2 separate regions of the Homo sapiens genome follow, and region 2 is linked to region 1. The links are contacts of gene promoters, found by promoter capture Hi-C in blood cells and fetal thymus (Javierre and others, 2016). All regions are on one chromosome and are shown on one strand. The core of a region is centred on a gene start or on the middle of the fragment in contact, and the rest is flanking DNA. Distances in the headings are between cores, read along the strand shown. Region 1 holds the start of SLC25A53 (solute carrier family 25 member 53). Region 2 overlaps ATG4A (autophagy related 4A cysteine peptidase).

Region 1 (3,855 bases), core at 658-3,157:
GTCTGAATTCAGACATGCCTGACGTTTAGGAGTGTGCCTAGCCTTCCCTAGGGGAGATATTCTTTTTTTTTTTTTGAGACAGAGTCTCACTCTGTTGCCCAGGCTGGAGTGCAGTGGCGCAATCTTGGCTCACTGCAACCTCTGCCTCCCGGGTTCTAAGAGATTCCAGGAGATATTCTTTCCAATTTATTGTCAGCTCCGTTTAGACCTATAGTTCTCCAAGTATGGCCCCATGTCCAGGAGTATCAGCATCTCCTGGGAACTAGTTAGAAATGTAAATTCGGGGGTCCACTCCTGACCAACTGTAGGGGCAACTCTGTGGATGGGACCTAGCAATCTTGGTTTTAAGAAACGCTCCATCTGATTCTGATTCACAGGAAAGTTTGAGAGCCACTGACTTAGACTGCTATACTGTTGTTTCTCTGGTAAACAAAGAGGCTTCTTTTCTTGTTCAGAGAAATATTGCTTAGGATTTCTGGTGGGTGCACAATTCCCTGCTGTGAACCGAGTTTGCTGGAAAACCAAGTAACTAGCACCTCCATCGTAGTCCTACCCAGAGCTTGCAGGCTTTGCACTCACGTAAGACTGATTCTTCCAGAGGCGCCTGGAAGTCCCATTGTGATGGGCAAATGCTCTTACCAGAAATAAACTAGTTGTGGGGACCGGGCGCGGTGGCTCATGCCTGTAATACCAGCACTTTGGGAGGCCGAGGCAGGCGGATCACTTGAGGTCAGGAGTTCGAGGCCAACCTGGCCAACATGGTAAAACCCCGTCTCTACTAAAAATATAAAAATATAAAAATTAGCCGGGAGTGGTGGTGGGTGCCTCTAATCCCAGCAACCCGGGAGGCTGAGGCAGGAGAATCACTTGAACCCGGCAGACGGAGGTTGCAGTGAGCGGAGATCACGCCACTGCATTCCAGCCTGGGCGACAGAAGTAGAGAGACTCCTTATCAAAAAAAAAAAAAAGAAAGAAAGAAAGAAAAAAAAAAAGAAATACACTAATTTTGGGCCTTAAATGCTACTCAGTTCTCCAGTTCACCTCAACAGGGAGGGAAGGTGCTTGGAGGAAAATTGCACTTCGTTTTTGCCCTGCTTATTTTGTCTTCAAAATATATGTTAAATCACCGCATCAAAGAGCCGTCCCAGATCTCAACTCCCAGATGAGTTCGGTGGCACCCAATAGATTTTCATAACACAGGATCTATCTCTGTCTCCTTGTATTGTAATAGCCTGTCTCCAAATGCAGATAGCAACCGGCAGGCTGTAAATGTCGAGGAAAAAGCCTAATTCCTTTCCTCATCCGGAGCCTCTAGTGCAGTACCCAGCACAGAGCAGGTACTTGGTATTTTGGTAAGGGAAATCAATCAACGCATCAATAGCAGAATCTGAAACCAGGGACCTAGATCTTTCCAATAAAATCATCCTGCTGAGATGTGACTCAGATGTACTGGTGCCCAGCAGACAACACGTTTTCGCCCTGATTTTATCCTCCATTCATCCGTCCGCCCCCTCCCCCATAGACCCCGCCTGTCCCCAGCTAAAAATAATGAGGGGATTCACACATCTCAGTGTCAACACACACAACACAGTTGACACGCCCCTTAATCCTACAGCTACGCCATCAATTCTCGCCGCCGGGTCCGTCCGCTTGTCAGTTTCCCCTACTCCTCATCCCCTCGCAACTTCTGATCCCCTATCACTTCCGTTCCCGTTTGCCTGCTAGGCTGGAAGCAGGATGTGTCTACGCCCTCAGCCCATAAGAAGTGCTACAAACCTCCGCCTCGCTCGCTGTCATGGCGGCGACCGACGGCCCCTTTCCTGTGGCCTCAGAAAGCAGCGACAGTCGCAGTCACCGGACCTTCGCCCATCCGCCGCCCTCACTTAAGCGACGCACAACGGAGCTCCCACAATCCTCTTTGCTTCCGCTCTCTTTATTTCCGCCTCCCCCGCCCCCGCCTCGACATTAACCGTTTCGCGACTACGTCAGTTGGCCGGTCTGTTTGGGAGAGCCAGGCGACTAATCTGGTATAGAGACCGAAAAACACAGGTAAAAAGACCTAAAAGACTTAGTCATCTATTGGAACATTTCCCCAGTTTGTTTGTAAGTTGGCTTGCAAGCTTATCAGTCATTCTCAAACAGGAGCTTAACTTACTTAGGTGAACAGTTCATGATGACGCCTTTAAGCTGCTAGACCAACCCAAACTCCGAATTTGCAGTTTCTGACCTTTCACCTTGAACCTGTGCCCTTTCTACCCTCTATTCTCCATCTCCTTTTGGTTCTTGTCTGACTCTTTAGCTGCATATGTAAAGAGCACAGACTTTGAAACCTGAGCTCCCGCGTTCGAATCCCCACTGTACCACTATCTAAACATGGCATCTTGGGCAAGTGATTCAAGCATGCTATTCCTTGGCTTTTTCATCTGTAGAATTGGTATAATAATAGTACTTACCTCCAGAGTTGCAGTAAAAATATTAAAATTTCACATGTGAGGAGCACCTAGAACATTGCCTATCATGAAGTTAAGCAGTATATTGAAATATAAATTATAATGATTGAATTTGATCTCACCTAAGACCTCTGGCTAATAAATAATAAATGATAATAATCATTTCACCTGGGATAGAGGGGATTGCCCTGTTCTCTCCAGGCTGAGGCTGTAATACCTGATTCTAGGGACTGCTGATATGGAAATTACTACCACTCTGGCTGGAGTCAGAAGAGTATATTAAAGAGTCTCTTTGTACTGTCCTAAAATAAGCAAAATCCAACGTTTGCAGTTCTATGGACCACGCACTATGATAAGTGCTTTAAACCCATTTTGTTGTTATTGCTTCATCCTCACAATAGCCCTTTGCTGGTTCTTAAGTGTATTACCCTTTCCTGTCCTCTTTGTCTGCTTAAAGCAGCTAAGAAAACTCAGATTAGTCAGATTGCATATAAATCAATAACTTGCCCACGGTCACAGAGCTAATAACAAATAGAGCCAAGACTTAAACTCAGATACATTCAGATGTGTCTTGGTATTTCTCAAATATCACTGAGAAAAAGGCCACCATAAATTCTTTTCAAGTGCTCTCTCTCCCCCAACTCCCCACCCCAAGAATTGCCTGAATGCCCATACAGAAAGACTAGGTTCTCTTCAGAAGCAGAAGGGCAGAACCCACTAAGGCAAAGATCTCTCCCTTGAAGGCTGGCAGCCAAGGAGGTGACTATAGTAGGAATTGGCATAACCAGCTCACTCATTGCCCTCCACTGTGCCACACAGGCCCCATTACTTCCTATAGTACTGAAGACCACTGGGGATAAAGGTACAGGGCCTTCACCTCATCCCACCGTTCTGTAAAGCTTGGATATTAGCAAAGATCTTGCTTATTTTAGGACAGTACAATGAGACTCTTTAATATACTCATCTGACTCCACCCAGAGTGGTAGTAGTAATTTCCATATCAGCAGTCCCTAGAGTCAGGAATTACTGCCTCAGCCTGGAGAGAACAAACCAATCCCCTCTGTCCCAGGTTAAAACAAAACAGGAATTCCCTCTGTTCCTTCAGAATGTACGGTACCCAGGATGTTGTTATTCTTGCTCCACACCTACCCACTCTCACTTCCCAACTTATCATCAGGCAGTCCACAATGGTTTTTTCAGGGGAAGGATTGGTGATGGTGAAGGGACTGAAGGAGAAGGTAAATCACCAGGTTTGCTGAAGGTAAATGAAGCACTGCCTTGTCCCTACCTCTGTACCTCTTTTGTAGCTCCCTGACCTTCTTTCTCATTTGGCATTTCAGAACCCATCACTCCACACCTAGGAAACCCTCTTGGGTTTGAATTGCAGACAAATCATCTTGTCTTT
Region 2 (3,855 bases), core at 527-3,026, 3.9 Mb after region 1:
AACAATTCCAAGTGCCTTTCCTACTGAGTGACTTGTTTGGGTAGTCTTCTTTTATAAACAGTATATTTTATTTTATTTTATTTTATTATTTTATTTTATTTTATTGTATGTTATGTTATGTTATGTTATGTTATTTATGTGACATGGTAATTAACTTTCAATTCTGAGTCCTTTAAGGCTAAGGGGAAGTTATCCTTTGACTTTTTGAAAGCTGCAAGATAAATAGGTCTTAGAGGAGAAGGTCTCTTCTCTTTTGTGGCTGGCCCCAAGTTATGGAGGAATGATGTGGTTGCTGTTTATGTCCATTAAGAGACAAATGGGGCCCTGTTAGGGTCTGACTCCCTTTCTGCTCTTATGATTGAACGTTCCCTATTGCCTTTTCCACTGATCACCTGGATTCTAGATACTAAAACAAGCTAAGTTCATCTTCTAGGCTTGAAGAATAATGCCAATAATAACTAGCATTTATAGATGACATTGTCAGTTACTGAGCTTATCTTATGCAATCCTCACATCAGCTCTGTGAGGTAGGTACTATTATCCTGCAGCTCCTACCTTTTTTAAAATGAGAAAACAGGCACAGAGGAGAGAAGTTACATGCCCAAGGTCACACAGTTTAGTTGGAGCTATAATAGAAATCCAGGCAATTCTACTCCAAAGTCCTACTACTTAACCACTGCAACATGCTGCTAAATATTGCTGAAAATGGAATTATGTGTAAATGATAATCCTAAATATTGCAATACAAAATGCTGTCAGAGTTCTTTGGGTTGTAACTCTACCTGTGATTTTGGTGAAATGACAAGATTTTAATGCTCTAGAGCAGTGCTGTCCAGTAGAACTTTCTGTGATGATGGTAAACTTCTATATCTACGCTGTTCTAGTATGGTAACCATAACCACATGTAGCTCTTAAAGACTTGCAATGTGTCTAGGAACTGAATTTTTAATGTCATTTAATTGTAATTGTTTTACATGTAAATAGTTTTGTGTGACTCATTATTAATCATCTTGGACAGTGCAGAGAGAGATCATTTCCCCCCACTTGTTCCTTTTTAATTACACTAAATATTTTACCCAATGCAAATATTCTTTCCATAGCACAACAGGAAGTGAATATATTCTATACTGAAAAACAACTTGAGGGTATACGCAAATCAATTAACTGCATGACAGTTGCAGGAACAGGTTCTGGGTTATCCACCATGAAACTTCTCCATTCCCAGCACTTACTAAATAAGGTTCCATAACTGGCTCAAAAACCTTTTGCAATTGATTTTTCACTGCTTACAAATGTAATTTATGTGGCTTATTGCACTTTACAGTTGCCAGTTGCTTGGTTTAAGATGAGACATCTTAATCTGTGGCTCTAATTTTTTTTTATATACAAGTTTTTTTATATAAAAGTTCTGGGGTACATGTGCACAACGTGCAGGTTTGTTACATAGGTATACATGTGCCATGTGGGTTTGCTGCACCCATCAACTCGTCATTTACATTAGGTATTTCTCCTAATGCTATCCCTCCCCCAGGCCTTCGCCCCCTGACAGGCCCTGGTGTGTGCTGTGGCTCTAATTTTTTTTAATCCCGTGTTTTGATCCCACATGTTAAATGTCCTTGGTGTTATATGTCACTGGGCTATACAAACCTTCCCCATTTAAAAGCGATTCCTTCACAAAACTGGCAAACTGTTACAGGCTGTTATAATAAAGCACTTTATATTTACTCCCTGAGTTTTAGCTTCCACACTCTTGTTTTAAGTTGTTTGCTTTATAAGTGGTTTCTTTTTTTAAAAGGGTTTTATTATGAATAAGAGACTCGCAATAATTTGCAAAGATAGTACAGAAAGGCCCCATATAATCTTCATCTGAGTTACTTCAATCATTGCATTTTACATAATTATAATACAATATCAAAACCAGGAAATTGATACTGGAATGATACGTGTGTATAATTCTATGTTATTTTATGATGTGTAGATTTGTTTAACCATTATCGCAATCAAGAAATATTCCATCTCTCCTGTGCTACCTCTTTATAGTCACACCCACCACCTACCCCCACCATTGATAACCCCTGAAAAATACTAATTTGTTCTCCTTTTCTATAACTGTCATTTTAAGAATTTTATATATAATTAAAATGATTTAATTTTTAGAATCATAAAGTATGTGACCTTTTCCACTATTTTTCACTCAGCATAATACATTTGAGACTCATTCAAATTGGTATCAATAGTTCATTCCCTCTTATTGCTGAGAAATATTACACGACATGGAGGTACCACAGTTTTTTTAACCATTCATCTATTAAGGGACATTTTTAAATGTCCAGTTTTTGGCTATTACGAAGAGAACTCTTATTAACATTGAGTACAGTGTTTTGTGTAGATGGAAATTTTCATCTCTCTGAGATAAATGCCCAGGAGAGCAATTACAAGGTGGGACGGTAAATATATGTTTAATTTTAAAAGAATCTGACAAACTAGTTTTCCAAAGTGACTGTACCATTTTGTATTCTCACCAGCAATGGTATGAGAGATCCAGTATCTCCACATCCTTTCCAGCATTTGGTATTCTCACTATTTTTTTTTTAAGTTTTAGCCATTGTGATAAGTGTGTAGTGATATATTACTGATTTAATTTGCATTTATCTGATGGCTAATAAAGTTCAACATCTTTTCATGTGTTTATTTGTCATCCCCATATCTTCTTCATTTAAATATCTCTTTATATCTTTGGCCCATTTTCTAATTGTATTGTATTGTTTGTTTTACTGTTGAGTTTTCAGAGTGCTTTATGTATTCTAGATACCAGTTCTTTGTCAGATATGTAGCTTGCAAATATTCTCTTCCAGTCTGTGGCTTGTCTTTTCATCTTAATAGGATTTTCCACAGAGAAAGAGCTTTTAATTTTGATGACATTCAACTTATTGATTTTTTTCCCTATTATAGATTGTGCTTTTGTTGTTACATCTAAGAAGTCTTCACCAAGTCGTAGGTCTCAAATATTTTCTCCTAGATTTTCTTCTGAAAATGTTATAGTTTTACATTTTACATTCAAGTCCATGATCCATTTTAAGTTAATATTTGGCATAAAATGTGAAGTTTAGGTCAAGGTTAATTTTTTTGGATTATTGATATCTAGTTACTTCAGCTCCATTGAATTGCTTTTGCACTGTTGTAAAATATAAGTATGCCGTACTTGTGTATATCTATTTCTGAGTTTTCTAATCTGATTCATTGATCTACGTATGTGTCCCTCTGCCATACCACACAGTGTTGAATACTGTAGCTCTATAATAAATCTTAAAATTTGATAGAGTGATTCCTCCTAGTTTATTGTTTTCAATATTGCCTGTTCCTTTAACTTTCCCTATAAATTTTAGAATAAACTTGCCTATATCTGAAAAAAGTTAGCTGAGATATTGATAGGAATTGTATTAGACCTGTGTATCAGTTTGGGGAAAACTGACATCTTTACTATGCTGAGTCTTCCAATCCATGAGCACCATATGTCTCTCCCTTTATTTAGATCTTCTTTTATTTATTTTATCAGCACTGTTCAATTTTCAGCATAGAAATCTTGTATGTTTTGTTAGAATTATACATAACCATTTCATTTTTGGAGTGACTATTAATGGTATTTTATTTTGAATTTTGGTTTCCATGTATTCATTGCTAGTATATAGAAATATAAATGATTTTTGTATGATAGTTTTGCATATTGAAACCTTGCTGAATTCACTGATTAGTTCTAGGGGGTTAAAAGGTATTTTTCTAATTTTTTTTCTTTTGTTTTCATTGTTTTTTAGGACTTTCTATGTAGACCATCTTGTCATCTGCAGAGAGGGACAG

Evidence for each region. The method cuts DNA at HindIII sites, captures the fragments that hold promoters and counts their contacts. A CHiCAGO score of 5 or more calls a contact.
Region 2: a fragment that was not itself captured here is called in contact with the fragment with the promoter of SLC25A53 in region 1 in 1 of 17 cell types (total B cells); the score reaches 8.1 in total B cells.

Annotation. Positions count from the first base shown.
Region 1 is chrX:104,155,102-104,158,956 of GRCh38, forward strand. SLC25A53 (solute carrier family 25 member 53) reads right to left here and starts at 1,908. Exons shown (of 2, transcript NM_001012755.5): 1 at 1,777-1,908. It also overlaps a transcript of FAM199X not described here. RefSeq lists an enhancer at 1,682-1,981. The HindIII fragment of the contact is 6,927 bases long and covers 1-2,118 here.
Region 2 is chrX:108,096,582-108,100,436 of GRCh38, forward strand. All of the region lies in intron 1 of ATG4A (autophagy related 4A cysteine peptidase), which reads left to right. Among named protein-coding and RNA genes, the nearest start is that of ATG4A, 6.7 kb to the left of the region's middle. The HindIII fragment of the contact is 8,346 bases long and covers 1-3,855 here.